Regions from separate parts of the Homo sapiens genome. Here all the other regions are linked to region 2. The links are contacts of gene promoters, found by promoter capture Hi-C in blood cells and fetal thymus (Javierre and others, 2016). All regions are on one chromosome and are shown on one strand. Each heading gives the region's core, a stretch centred on a gene start or on the middle of the fragment in contact. The rest is flanking DNA. Distances are from core to core; before and after follow the strand shown. Region 1 overlaps SNX10 (sorting nexin 10). Region 2 holds the start of JAZF1-AS1 (JAZF1 antisense RNA 1). Region 3 holds the start of HOXA9 (homeobox A9).

Region 1 (4,821 bases), core at 1,941-4,440, 1.8 Mb before region 2:
CACTGACCATCCTGTTCACCAATTATTTTTCCTTTTTTTTTTAATATAGAGTCCTACAGAATGCACTTTTGCTTTCAGATAGCAGCCTTCACCTCTTCTTACAGAGCCATCTGAATTCAGAAGACATTGAGGCGTGTGTTTCTGGGCAGACTAAGTACTCTGTGGAAGAAGCAATTCACAAGTTTGCCTTAATGAATAGACGTTTCCCTGAAGAAGATGAAGAAGGAAAAAAAGAAAATGATATAGATTATGATTCAGAAAGGTATTTCCTTGCATTTTGATTTAATGTATATGTATTTATATAATACATAGTATGCACATATGCACGTGTATAGATATATATACACACTTCACTTTTTTGTTGATATAATACTAAGATAATGAAAAAATTAATTGACTGAGATTTTATTGAGCTGTGACAGCTCATCATAGTAGTCTTCACACACACCTCCACACTGAATTAATGAATGCAGTAGAAATTCAATTATTTGCATTCTGATTATGTGACTTTCATTTAGTCAGACTTGAATTATTCGCGTTTAAATTATCTAGCTAAAAAAATACCCAACTGCACTCCAAATGGCTAATTAAAAGTCCAAATTTCCTGTCTCTCTTTGTGACTGGAGATAATTAAAGTTCTCCTCTGTTACTCAGGCTTTGAGTGTGTTGTGAAAACCAATTTCCTCTTTTTATTATTTTCCCCCTCTCTTCTTTTCCAGTTCATCCTCTGGGCTTGGACACAGTAGTGATGACAGCAGTTCACATGGATGTAAAGTAAATACAGCTCCGCAGGAATCCTGAAAAATAATTCTAATGTTACTATCTTAGGAATAGCAAATTATGTCCAGTCATAGAGAAGAAAGCTTCATAATAATACATTCTTACCTAAAGCTCACTGTCATGATGTTAGGTATTTAAATTCTTAAAGATGTTGGGTTGTTTATTAGTGGTATTTTTATGTTGTCTTATTTTAGGTAAGCTTCTGTGTAAAGCTAAAAATCCTGTGAATACAATACTATCCTTTACAGGCAGACATTATTGGTAAACAAGATCTTGCCCTCCAATGAAATGACTTACATGTTTTAAAAAACCGAGTTGGTTTTATTGAATTTAAAAAGATAGGTAACTAAGTAGCATTTAAAATCAAGATAGAGCATTCCTTCTTGTATCAGTGGGGCAGTGTTACCATAAACACGGTGTATATGTTGTTAAACCCTATGAAGAGTAACAGTGTAGACCAGACTGCCTCTCTCAGATATGTGCCTGATATTTTGTGGATACCTCCCCTGCACTGGCAAAACACTATGCTTTTGGGTGTTAGACTGAAATATTTTAAGAGTATTTAACCTTTCCAGTATTCTGTTTCACGCTTAGATGGAAATGTATCTTATGAATAGAGACATATTAAAATAATGTTTACATCTTAGAAAAAACATAGATAGTGCTAGTAATATTACTTATAACTGTAATATATAGATTCAGAAATACATTTTCATTATCCAAAATCAGCTTCAACAAATGGTTTCTGGAGACAAATAATTTGTTTTCATTATCATTGTATAATCAGGTTAATGATTTATTTTTTGACTAAATGTGCAATTTCTTATCACTAGATAACTTTCAGTATCAGTGGTGGTTACTTATTACTTAAATCAGAGGAAGGATTTTATAAAGATTAATAAATTTAATTTTACCAATAAATATTCCCATAATTTAGAAAAGGATGTCGACTTGCTAATTTCAGAAATAATTATTCATTTTTAAAAAGCCCCTTTTAAAGCATCTACTTGAAGATTGGTATAATTTTCATAAAATGTCTTTTTTTTTAGTGTCCCAAAGATATCTTAGATAAACTATTTTGAAGTTCAGATTTCAGATGAGGCAACATTTTCTTGAGATAATTACCCAAGTTTCATCCATGTTGAATGGTACAAAATATTTCTGTGAAACTAACAGGAAGATATTTTCAGATAACTAGGATAACTTGTTGCTTTGTTACCCAGCCTAATTGAAGAGTGGCAGAGGCTACTACAAAAAGCAACCTTTTCATTTTCACTAAGAGTTTAAAAGCTATTGTATTATTAAAAAGTCTTTACAATGCTTGTTTCAAAGAACCAACAGAAAAAAAAGCTAAGAAAACTGAGAACTAACATTAAAAAAATTAAATTTAGAATAAGAATGATTTCTTTAATTTGTCCTTTTTTTCTTTGGTCTAAAACATTATTAAATTTTTGTAAATATTTTGATTTAATGTGTCTTAGATCCTCATTATTTTAATACAGGAAAAGAAAAGATTTAGTAATTTCTTACCATGCTAATATGTAAAGTTCATGCCATCCAGGCATTTAAGAGCGATCCTCATCCCTTCAGCAATATGTATTTGAGTTCACACTATTTCTGTTTTACAGCAGTTTTGAAAAACACATACTATGCCACCAATTGTCATATTATTTTTAGATGATGTAACATAGCCATCAAAATTAATATTATGTAATGCCTAATACTTAGTATGTAAATGTCACGAGATCATTTTTACATTAAACGTGAAAAAAAATCAACTTTGCCGGATCACTTATTTTATACAAGAGAATATATTCTGCCTTAGACCCAAACTCAGTGTTTTTTATTTTTTATGAGGAAATTTGGTAAAACATGGTTTAATATTAGCTATAGTTGTACATATTTGAGGCTTTTAGCCTTGGTTTAGTTGTTTCAATGTCCACACACTGGCTTCTTAAAACTGATTTCTTGCAGCTGAGATATTTAGATGAACTTCAGTTCCCAGTGGTTTTCTTGCTTTGTCTCTTATTTTTCTCTGGCATATTTTTTATAAAGCTTTCTTTAGGAAAAAGAAAATAATTACTGATGTAGCTAACTTGAATAGATGTTTATTTAACACTATTTTTAATGTGACTTAAATGTAAAGAATTCTAATCCTGGATTCTTTATGATTACAATACAGCAAAACTGCATTTTCCCTGGCTGATTCTTAAAGGGTAAACTATTCACCTATAAAGCCAACTTACGTGTTTTGTTGTAGAACTAGATTTATATATAACCCAAAGGTGTCAACAGCACTGAACGTCAACAACCTGTTACTTCGGCTTCTTATAAAGTCTCACTTAGAAGAAAGTTACTTAATTCTAGTTAAAATTTCAAGTTTTAAAAATTACTAGGGACAAACAAGTATTTATTTTTAAGCAGATACTATTCCTTAAGATATGAAGTATCTTGCCAGTTTTTCAAACCTAGTCCACATTTTATTGAATAATTAAATACAAACAAGTGATATGCAGTATAAAGTAAAAGAACAAAGTTTCTTTTATGACAATTAAGAAGTTAAACAACTTCATTTAGCCTGGCCACAATAACCGTTATATCCAACAGTAAACTGGACGTTGTTTTGAATTTGGTTTGTATTTGTTGGATGCCTTAAGGATTCATTATTATTGAGCTACTGTGATACCAATAAGGTTTTCAGTATTTGAGCTATAAAAGACAACCCCTTTTCATTAGAGGCCCCTTAACATTTTAAACGAAAATAACAAAGCTTATTCTGTTTCTAAATAGTCTTCCTCTTAATATTTAAATTACTTAGCTGGTATCCTGTGAATACAAGGCAACATCTTTTCAATGAAGGAAACAATTTCAGTACAATTTTGTGTTTTTGTTTGGAATATAGACCTTTTCTTAGTTTATTATATATAAACACATTTTCAAATACAAAATACTGTCTGAAATTAGTTACTGCAATTTGACATTCAAAGCATAGAATTTTCTTTGCAAATAAAGGTCATAAGAAATTAATAATTTTAATAGAGTGGAGTTCAAAAATTTCAGAAGGATGTAAATAAGCAACAATTTCTTTAACATTTGCTATATATACAAAGGACTTTGGTTCTATTCTTTGCCATATGCATCTTACAAACGAGTCACCATTGTCCCTTTTTAGCAGACACAATTGCGCTTCACTCCTACTGCAAACTTTTCTAGATCATGAGCAGTGCATTGGACACTAATTTATTTTAGCTGCGCAAACTCTGGTAGTTAATGACCCTTTCTCTTTCTCCAAAATTCCAAAGACTTCTTTTCAAAAGATATAGAGGAAAAGAGAAAAAAAACCATTAAGCTACAATTTCCTGCTGAATTTAAACTCTGGTCTAAAGACACTATGTAAATGGCTTATGCTAAAGAGGAAAATACCCTTTCTCCCCCGACGAGAAGTGTAGATTCATCCAACCCCACACCGCTTGTCTTTGCTGCTAGAGGCACAGCACGGGCATAACTTGTGGTTGTGTTTTTGCTAGTTTCTTACCTCTGGGCCTTCTTTATAGCTTTGCCCCCCACCCCACTGGCGGTGGCGCTCCCGCGGCTGCACCCTCGGCCGCCTGTTGGTTGCGGCGCCTCCGCGGCCCGCGCGCATCCCCCGCGCTGCGTCCCGCACACGCGCGCTCCCGCCGCGTCCCGCCCGGGCCGCTCCGCTGGCGGCGGCGACTGGGCTGCAGGTAGCGAGCCAGCCGGCCTCGGTCCGGTAACCCATGGCAACCGCCCTGGTAACCCATGGCAACTGCGCGGCGGAAAGAAAAAAAAGAACCGTGGTGGGGCGGGGGGCGGCGGGCGGTGAATGGGAACAACGACCGCAAAGAGACAGCGATTTACCGCGCGGGCCTGCGGCTCCCGGCCGCACCTGCTGCAGACGGCCCGCGAGGCCCCTTCCCGCGCTACGGTGACGATTCTGGCTGCTGGGGAAAAGAGCAATAAGCAGAAAGCCCTCGTGCAGAGGGGATCCGGGCGGTGCACTTGGTGTGGGAGGCTGCCTTA
Region 2 (4,858 bases), core at 1,857-4,356:
AACAAAAGTTAAGCATACACATATAAGATAACAGAGAGTTATTCTCAACTTAATGCACTTAATTAATCCAAACTAAACATAATACTTTTATAATGAAAAACACAGGCCTTGAAAAATCTGCCAAGCAAGAAACACACCATATTCCCATAAATATTCATTTTATCGCTGTTTAAGGGTTTTTACTAGTGGCTAAAGGTAATAACCCAGATAGGCCCCCAAAATGGAATGCTCACCTAAGCATATCTCTAATACTCACGGTTGCTAAATAACAAGACTGTTGAACAAATTAAAAGCAAAATAACACACCTCTTATTCTTTTCATGAATCTTTTTAATGTAACCACTCACCAACAGACATGAAATCAGTAAGTCAATCATTAACGGTCTCCAAATACTTATAGATTGAATCAAAAACGATAAATACCACATAACAATACCTGTCTAGAACTTTGACTAAATGCTTTATATTTTCACCCATGTCTTTTCATCAGAAGTGTATTTATATGACACTATCTACTAATTGGGATATTTTTATTCTTCTTAAGATCAGTTCTTCTTTCTGCATATAGGGCTGCCTTTGATAGTAAAGGGCCTCTCCCCAGCAGAAGTGTATAATAGTTTGAGCCTCTTCATCCTGGGAATTGCAAGTGTTTGTTCATTTTAACATTTGCTTTTCATAAAGTTTGCTGGTTCAAACTGTTTTCAACTGTGTTAGCCCTGCAACACAGTTCACCTAGGTCACTGCTATTGCTGTAAACTTAATTTTTCCACATTTTCACTATTAAAAGGACAACACTAGCCTTCTGGGAATGAGGTAGCATTACTTCAAAGCTGAGTTTTAGAAAACGTATCAAACTCTTAACCTTCTTTAAAAATGTGTGCAAAATATTAAGACAATTTCTACACTTAAAAAAAAAACCTCATGATTCACCAAGTTTTAAACCATCTCAAACTAAATCCTCAAGAAGGATAACTGTCTTTAACACATTTTAATAAATATAATTTATACTGTCTTTTAACCAGCTTGTCTAAGTAGGTAGGCAATGGGGTAAAATTATTACTCAGCTTATATAAATTATAGTTTATTCTGAAATAACTGTTAGCGAGAATGGATGGGATATGCAATGACAGCCTTCTGTAAGTCAAGAGAAATTATTTATTTATATTACTTATATCATACATATTAATGTATAGCATTATCTATATTTATTTTTTACTTATTATTGGGAGTAAGGGGAAGAACTTGAACTAGTAACATTTCTACCAGAACTTCACAGTACCGGTGTTTTCGCTTTATTTTAAACTAGCCATCATGAAAAATCTGATTTAATACTTTCAAGCACTTTCAGTTATGACTATTCAATCATGATATGAATCAGCAAATTGGTTGCTCCATTAAACTGCTTTTAAGACTACCAAAACTTGCCCAGCTCTTCTGTCATACCTTTAGCAGAGGAAATGGAAGAAGCTATTACAAGGACGCCTGAAAACTTGAAAAGTTTCAAAACCTGGACAATTACTCAACAGCATTTTCCTCTGAAAGACATTTTGTAGACGTTTCCCATGATTATCTCCTATTCCGGATGGCCCATCAAATCACATTCTAAACAGGCATTCAACACTTATTAAGCAGCCACTGTGTGCAGAGACAGCACTATACTAAGCAAAGGAGCATAGGGTTCTGCCTCATTTTATTCCTGCATAAATACACAGCAGTCGTGATTTATTCTCTCAACTTTGTAGAAACGTGAGCTGCATCCACATGGCTGAATCCATGGCATTCATTTGGACTTCCTGGGGGCAATTTACAGGTTCTCTGGATTAGACAGCCCCATTGGGACATCGCTCGGACCCTTCACCTTCTAGCCCACGCAGGACAACTCGCTGGCGTCGGTCACACCTTCCGCAGGTGGTTGGACCGCCTAAGCCAGATGCACCCGGCCCACCTCCCTTAGCAGGGGTTCCGAATAGAAGTGTGAAAATGTGTGCAATGACTTCTGCAAATCAGAGGACTTGTTGAAAGGTCCAGGGGTCCAGGCGTGAAGGGAAAGCAGCCACCCTGCGGGGCGCCCCCTCCCCGGCGTCTCCCGGGCCCGGGGCGCTGCGCAGGCCGCCGCCGATCCCAGGGCGCAGCCAGCGCACCTCGGGCCTAGCACCATTAGAAAGGCAAATCGCAGAGCCGGGGTGCATTTAAATGCCCGGCCATGGGCCCTGGGGGTGTCTCTCCAGCGGGCGCCGCCGCAGGGGCCTCCAGGGCGCGTCGACCCCGGGGCGCTGGGCGCGGCCCGCGGGCGCACCCAAGACCTCAGCCCGCAGCGCCCGGGCGTCCGCGCCAGGCCGGGGCAGGGGAGGGCACCCAGAGCCCCCGGGCCCGCGTCCCCGGCCCCGCCCGGGCCCCTCGGCCGCCTCCCAGGGAGAGGGCAAGCTCCCCGGCCCCCGCCCGCGGCCGCCGGCCCCGGCCCCCTCCCGACGCACCACACCTAGCAACCGGCGCTGACAGGACGCAGTGGCGGCGGCGGCGGCGGGAGGAGGAAGCGGAATGGCTGCCGCGGTGGAGCCACCCCCGCCCCCCCGCTCCACCTCCCCGCGGCTGCAGCCGCCGCCGAGCCCTGACAGCTCGAGCCGGGGCGGAAGCGCCCGGCGGCGTGCAGCGCCCGCCCCCCGCTGCCCTCAGCGCCTCGGGCTACTCCGACCACCCGGGCCAACTAACTCCGCGACCCTGCCCAGCGCCCAGCTCCCGCCGCCCGCCGCGCCCTCCGCCCCGCGCCCCGCGCGCCGGCACTCGGCCCCGCCGCCGCAACCCCGCCGCCCCGCCGCGGCGCTCCCCGCTCCCACCACTTCGCAGCCCGCGTGCACGCCCCTGAGTCCCCCAGCCGCCCGCCCGCCCGCCCGCGGCACCTCGGGGCGCCCGCCCCCTCCCCCACCCGAGCCCGCTCCCCGCCCCCCGGCACCTCGCGCCCCCGCATCCCGCCACCCCCACCTCGGGGCTCGCACGCGCCCTCCCCGCCCTGCCGCCTCCCTCCCCGCCGGCCACCCCTGGCCATTCCGGGGCTCCCCGCCCGGGCAGGAGTTTCCGCGCGCCTGGCACCCCCGCCCACCCCCGGGCCATTTACCGATGTGGTTGTCCTCGATGTGCTCGATGAGGTCGGCCAGGGTGGGGAAGTGGAGTCCGCAGCCCCCGAATCGGCAGGTATTGGAGAAGAAGGAGGCGGCGGCGATGCCTGTCATGGTGCTACATCGAGAGCCCCCCTGGTGTCGGCTCTGCGAGCGCCGGGCGGGCGAGGGAGGGAGGGAGGCCGGGTGGGGTGAGGAGAGGAGGGGCTGGGGGAGGGGGAGAGAGGCGGGGTGAGGGGAGCGGCGAGGACGGGACGGAGGGAGAGGGGGCGAGAGAGATGGAAGGAGAGCGAGGAGCCACCGGGAGGCAGAGGGGAGGCGGCGGCTGCGGCGGCGGCGTCGGGAGCGGCGGGGGGAGGGCGGGGGCGGGGGCGGGGGGGGAAGGCCGCCGCAGCTGGGAGGAGGGACCAGGGCGCGCGGCTACAGCTGTGCGGCCCCAACCTCAGCGCGCGGACCCAGGCCTCACCTGCGAGCCCTGCCACCAACTTTATCTCGCTAGGCCTGCCCTTTACGGCTTGCCATCCGTGCCATCTGTTTGGAGCCTCCTTGGTTATGTATATGACGTTCTTAATACACCCACATCGATTAATTACACCTACCTCCCTGCGAGGAGAACTCAGGGAGTTACCCTGGTCCCTCTCAGGGACATTTTTTTGTACTCAGCCACCTGTCTAGGTGTGACACATTCACAGGGGACCCAGGAAAGGTAATTGTGTGCACCTTCTTCTTTAAACCTTCTTTAGAAAAAGTACACATTCTCCGGAGGTTTGTACTAACTAATTGATTTTAATGAAGCTTTCCCTCTAGGCCAGAAAAAAATCTTAGCTTTATTTAAATTTCAAAATAGAGTGCTTGGTTGTCAAGTGCATTTGCCTGTGTTTTACATATGTGCCACGTTTTTTATACTCCCTGCTCCTTCTAGGAAAACAAAAACTAAAATAATTTCATCACCCGAAATTACAGCACCCTACTGCACCCACTCCACCATCTCAGGTCTGGTAATTAACCCATCCTCGTTTCAGCCACTGCAGAAAGGACAGTGCATTGGTTAAGGCTAGAAGGAGCGGAAACAACGGCAAGGGACATAGTGACTCTTCATTTAAAAAGGAAGCGATTTCATCCTGTGAGCATTTAAAGCATAATGTTGACCAGGTAACCACTTAAGGTGAATTTAGTAGCTTCCCTGAAAACCAGCATTTTGCTGAGAATCAATTACTTTCTTGTCCCCACCCCCTCCTCCAGTTGCAGTCATATTTCTTCTGTAAAGTGTGTATTTTCCAGTAGCACTTTTCCAGGTGTCTAAGAAATATTACACATTATCAGCAGTTTATGACCCAACAGTACATTTTTTTTATTAATATTAATATATGCATACTGAATTTAGCATTTTTCCTTAGGGCAAATTTCACTTACCCTCTGGTGCAGATGCATGGAGAAATAGTATTCCTCCCTCCATAAACTCTATGCATCTCTGTCTAGTGTTATTTCTAATAATGGGATTGTTTGCTTTTCATGTAAGTGCTTAGAGTAAAGGCACATGTAATATGTCTGTTGCTACAGGAAGTTTTATGATCTGACCATCACCGGTGGCATTTTCTCTTCTCATCTCTTCTGTCTTGCAGCTCACAAGGTGACAAACTTGCTGAGATGAGATTCGGCTTGGGTGGGGCTGGGGCAGCTGTGTCTTGAAGTTCAGTTTGGTGCCAAGAATGGTTTCATGGGCCCAATGAGGGTGGGGGCAGGGC
Region 3 (5,035 bases), core at 1-2,500, 1.0 Mb before region 2:
CCTCTGTTAGGCCTTGTGCTCGAGAGGTGCTTGCAGTGCAGGACCCAGATTCTCTTGGGCCAGGCTGGCAGGACTCCGCGGGGGTGGCGGGCGGTGCGAGGATGCAGGGCTTTGTTCCTTTGCAAGCCCCCAAAATGTTTGCCTGCATGGCCACGTTGGGCCGGTGGGGCTCCTATTTCCCTCTTCAGAGCCTGCTTAGAAGGCGGCTCCCAGCTCTCTATCCTGTCACCCTCTCCCCCTTTTCCTCACCAAGCTAACGAAGGCCCAGGTTTGGGAATTTTCTCGGGGGCACCAAGGTGAGAGTGGTCTTTCCACTGCTACTGGCCAGACCAGACCAGCTCCTCAGGGGCTTCTCCGCCGTCCCGCACATAGACACAAGGCCGGGAGCCTGGCTCCTCCGCCGGGTTTCCCAGCTTTTTCTCGCCGCCAGGCAGCTGGCCTGTTTGGGAGAGCTTAGCTCGGCGGACTGGTTGTGGCAGGTCCCGCTCCTGAAAGCCAGCCAGAGGCAAAATTGGGGCTCTTTCTCACCACCCCAACCCGCCCCTACCCAGAGACTCTACATAGGCTCCCCTGACCCAGAGAAGAAGGTGCAAAGAGCAGACCCGCAAAAAATAGAAAAGAATCAATATATTTTATTTGGCAAAAAGTTAAATATCATCTCAACACAACAATTTGGTCAGTAGGCCTTGAGGTAACTATTGCAAAATATACAGTGTAAGTTCAGTCTGATGGAAACCCCAGATTCATCAAGGATACAAATCTACAGTAGCCCAATGGCGGTTTCATAGTGTATAATTTATTATCAATAAAATTAACTCCGTTACAATCAGCATTCATTTCCTCCAATTAAAATTAAGCATAAACCCTAGGTAGTAACCTTCTGCACATATGTATAGCTCCGAATTTCCTCACTGTTCGTCTGGTGCAAAAACAATATTCAAGCTTGTCTGATTATGCATATTTTCTTTAATCATATAGATTATATATACAATAGACAAGACAGGACTATATAGATAATGGACAGACTTAAATGCCCGCATTTTTAAGGTGGAGAAAATGATGAATCTATGCATCCCCGAGAACACTTAAAATTTTTTTTTATTTCACTGGGAAATTCTTACAGCTACTTTACAATCATAGGTTAACAGCCTAGTTATACAGAAGACATATTCCACTACAGAGCTATACTCTATGCAACTGTTTTTTTCCCCTCATAAACAACCTGAGTTCAAATTGAATTCTATCTTCCACAATCACAATGGGTGCATCACCCAGTACACAGAAGTTTGAATCACAAAACATAATTACCACAATAAAACACAGTGTTCAAGTATCTTGGCAGAGCAATCTGCCGCACAAACTGCAAATTAAATTAACTACACAGACTAAAAACTATACAGCCTACCATCAACAGTTGTGCATTATAAAAAGGTAGTTTCTTTCCTTTTGTTTTAAGTCAGGAACAGGTAGATTTTTAAAAATATATATACAAGCTAACACACACAGCTATCAGCACTAATGCCCCCCCCTCAACTTTTCCTTTTTCTTATAGAAAATGGAAAGCTTACAATACCTCCTCCATCAAAGCGGCAGGCCTACGAGCCAGCCTGAACAGGGTTTGCCTTGGAAAAGATGTGGCCTGAGGTTTAGAGCCGCTTTGTGCGGGGATGGTGGAGGCTAGGGTGGGGGTGAGAGAAGGGAGAAGGCGGAAGGGGGACGGACAGTTCTTTCTTTTTCTCTCTAGCTTACCCTTTTTTCTAAATAAGCCCAAATGGCATCACTCGTCTTTTGCTCGGTCTTTGTTGATTTTCTTCATTTTCATCCTGCGGTTCTGGAACCAGATCTTGACCTGCCTCTCGGTGAGGTTGAGCAGTCGAGCCACCTCGTACCTGCGGTCCCTGGTGAGGTACATGTTGAACAGAAACTCTTTCTCCAGTTCCAGGGTCTGGTGTTTTGTATAGGGGCACCGCTTTTTCCGAGTGGAGCGCGCATGAAGCCAGTTGGCTGCTGGGTTATCTGCGGGGAAGAGAAACACTGGGTTTAGGAGCAGAAGACGCACATCCCGCTGGGGCAAATGAGCCTCCTGCATGGGGTCTCTGGCCGAAGTGCAGAACTCTGCTGAACTGGTTAGGAAAGGCAGTCAGGCCTCGGACACAATGGAACCCTGGCAGACAGACGCACAGACAGTCACTTAAAATTGCACGCAGTAAAACTTTGGCTCGCCCTCCCCTCCGAGACCTTCCTTTCTCCTACTCTGTCCTCTTGTCCCCCTTCTCCTTCCTCCCACTCTCAAAACGCTGTATAGAATGAAATTTGGAAACAGGTCTCCTTGCCACGCAGAGGGAAAGCATGCTGCCTTGTGTTCTGTAGCAAGATTAGGATTCCTCTGTCCCGTTCACTGACTTCGTCTTTCTTTCCCAACCTGTCCCTCTACGCCCCCCACTCCTTATTTAACCTTCCTGGAAGGCCTTCGGAGCTGGGCAAGCCGTCAGGGCGCCCTAAGGCCGCTGATCACGTCTGTGGCTTATTTGAATAATCTGTCATGGGGACCCTTGTGGCCCGGGTCGCCCGCAGCCTCATCTTGGCAGGATTTACGCCGCCACTGGCCGAAGGCAAGAAGTGGAAGGAATCGGCCGTCTCCCCCAGCGTCCCAGCTCCGGCTGCCCTGGCTGCCGCCGCTCACGGACAATCTAGTTGTACAAAAGGCTCTCTGGGCTGCACTGCTTTCGAAGAACGGCCCAAAGTATCTCGGTCCTGGGCCTGGGCAGCCAAGGAGAGGGGCGGCCAGTCTTGGCTCGTCCCGAAGTGCCCGCCCCGCCCCCTCTCGCTGCAGCAGCCGCCTCCTCTCCCGTAGCCCTGCGGGCCGCTCTTCACTGCTCTCCAGACTTGGGGCCCTATCTGAGGCGTCCCAAACACCAACTTCTGGCTCCTGGCCCCAACTCGAGAGGCTTCCAGCGAGGACGAAGGCAGGCTCGAGAGAAACCTGGCGGGCCAGCAGATCCGGGAGGCCGGCGTGGAGGCGGCGGCGGATTTGAAGGGAGGAGACACTTACTGGGATCGATGGGGGGCTTGTCTCCGCCGCTCTCATTCTCAGCATTGTTTTCAGAGAAGGCGCCTTCGCTGGGTTGTTTTTCTCTATCAACTGGAGGAGAACCACAAGCATAGTCAGTCAGGGACAAAGTGTGAGTGTCAAGCGTGGGACAGTCACCCCTTCTGGCCGACAGCGGTTCAGGTTTAATGCCATAAGGCCGGCTGGAGGGCAAGCCCGCGAAGGAGAGCGCACCGGGCGTGGGCTCCAGCCAGGAGCGCATGTACCTGCCGTCCGGCGCCGCCGCCGCCACGGGCGCCTGGGGGTGCACGTAGGGGTGGTGGTGATGGTGGTGGTACACCGCAGCGGGTACAGCGTTGGCGCCCGCCGCGTGCACTGGGTTCCACGAGGCGCCAAACACCGTCGCCTTGGACTGGAAGCTGCACGGGCTGAAGTCGGGGTGCTCGGCCAGCGTCGCCGCCTGCCGGGGAGGCTGGCCCAGGGTCCCCGGCGCATAGCGGCCAACGCTCAGCTCATCCGCGGCGTCGGCGCCCAGCAGGAACGAGTCCACGTAGTAGTTGCCCAGGGCCCCAGTGGTGGCCATCACCGTGCCCAGCGCCTGGCCCGCCCGGCCCGACCCACGGAAATTATGAAACTGCAGATTTCATGTAACAACTTGGTGGCACCGGGGGGGAAGTACAGTCACCTAATAAGTTGCCGGCGCCCGCGCCCCCATTGGCCGTGCGCGTCACGTGCCCGTCCAGCAGAACAATAACGCGTAAATCACTCCGCACGCTATTAATGGTCCGATGTTTTGCAGTCATAATTTTTATAGCAAAAGCCATATGTTTTTATGTAAAGGGATCGTGCCGCTCTACGATGGGGTTTGTTTTAATTGTGGCCAACGACGATTAAAAGATCAAATCTAGCCTTGTCTCTGTACTCTCCCGTCTCCCCCCCCATACACACACTTCTTAAGCGGACTATTTTATATCACAATTAATCACGCCATCAAGAAGGCGCGGGTCCCGCGTGCGAGTGCGGCCAGCGGAGCCCCTCACATAAAATTAGACAATAATTGAAGCCATAAAAAAGCAGCCAAATCGCATTGTCGCTCTACTGTATTTAAATCTATATTTATGATATTTCATAAGGAGTTATTGTTTCAGAAGCCACACAGGCTGGCGGGAAGTCGGAAACGACCAACAGATTCGTTTGCCTCGCCGTGGCTCCCAGCTGTAAAAATTTACGAGGACTTGGAAAGGTTAGACTGTTGTGTTTGGTTGGCGAGCTCCCTGTAAATAATCCCTGCGGTCCCCGGGAGAGGCGAGTTTACCCGCGGCCGCCCTCGAAAAGTCAAATTCAACGCAGGATCCGTCCCAAACGGAGCCGCCGCCGGCCCTACCAGGGCACTCCAGGCAGGGACCGGCCGCTCAGGGAGTACCGCGGGTGTAGGTCCCCACAGCTACCCGCCTGGAGCGAGGGGCGCCCGGGCAACCCTTAAATTCGCCTTTGCTACGAGGACCCCACGGAGGAGCTGGCCAGGAGGGAGCGGCCAGCCGCCACCAGGGCGAAGGTTTTGAGGGCCTGGTTGGTTGTGCGGCGCGCTCGGTCCCCGGCCCTCGACCCCACGCACACGCGCGCCCAGCCCGCCTTTCTCATCAGCTGGCAATCAGGATTCCCAGGCGCAGGCGGCTGGCGACCCAGCCCTGTGCTCCAGCCTCAGAGGCTCTAACCATGAGCGCTGCAAGCCTGGTTGCGCTCCGTGAATCCCAGCTGGGGAAAAAACTACAAGTGGCATGAATGGAAGGCAAGTTCGGTTTGGGAAAAGGCAGCCTCGCCTAAGAGACCCCGCAGCTCCGGAACCTGGGAGGCCCGCACCGATGTGGCCTGTCCCGGGGCCGCGTGAGCCTTTCAGGGCTCCTTCCTCCCTTTCCAGCTGCTACTCCGGGCCTCGCCTTGGTTACCTACGGGGCCCGGAGACTCGGCGGAGAGGTACAAGGCCCA

What was found. Contacts are between HindIII fragments. The CHiCAGO score rates a contact against its expected background, and 5 or more counts as called.
Region 1: a fragment that was not itself captured here is called in contact with the fragment with the promoter of JAZF1-AS1 in region 2 in 3 of 17 cell types (non-activated CD4 T cells, activated CD4 T cells and total CD4 T cells); the score reaches 6.5 in non-activated CD4 T cells.
Region 3: a fragment that was not itself captured here is called in contact with the fragment with the promoter of JAZF1-AS1 in region 2 in 4 of 17 cell types (activated CD4 T cells, non-activated CD4 T cells, naive CD4 T cells and 1 more); the score reaches 9.3 in activated CD4 T cells.

Annotation. Positions count from the first base shown.
Region 1 is chr7:26,371,772-26,376,592 of GRCh38, forward strand. It overlaps SNX10 (sorting nexin 10), which reads left to right. Exons shown (of 7, transcript NM_013322.3): 6 at 50-262; 7 at 720-2,612. The coding sequence ends at 801. It overlaps SNX10-AS1 (SNX10 antisense RNA 1), which reads right to left. Exons shown (of 2, transcript NR_136272.1): 2 at 248-797. Among named protein-coding and RNA genes, the nearest start is that of LINC02981, 24 kb to the right of the region's middle. The HindIII fragment of the contact is 715 bases long and covers 2,834-3,548 here.
Region 2 is chr7:28,177,351-28,182,208 of GRCh38, forward strand. JAZF1-AS1 (JAZF1 antisense RNA 1) reads left to right here and starts at 3,107. Exons shown (of 4, transcript NR_034097.1): 1 at 3,107-3,189. It overlaps JAZF1 (JAZF zinc finger 1), which reads right to left and starts at 3,445. Exons shown (of 5, transcript NM_175061.4): 1 at 3,113-3,445. The coding sequence starts at 3,227. RefSeq lists enhancers at 1,664-2,165, 2,166-2,665 and a silencer at 2,520-2,639. The HindIII fragment of the contact is 6,606 bases long and covers 1-3,906 here.
Region 3 is chr7:27,161,826-27,166,860 of GRCh38, forward strand. It overlaps HOXA10-HOXA9 (HOXA10-HOXA9 readthrough), which reads right to left. Exons shown (of 3, transcript NM_001433944.1): 2 at 3,053-3,142; 3 at 613-2,016. The coding sequence ends at 1,778. It overlaps HOXA9 (homeobox A9), which reads right to left and starts at 3,712. Exons shown (of 2, transcript NM_152739.4): 1 at 3,053-3,712; 2 at 613-2,016. The coding sequence starts at 3,632. The coding sequence ends at 1,778. RefSeq lists enhancers at 237-736, 2,248-3,125, 3,126-4,002, 4,851-5,035. The HindIII fragment of the contact is 621 bases long and covers 941-1,561 here.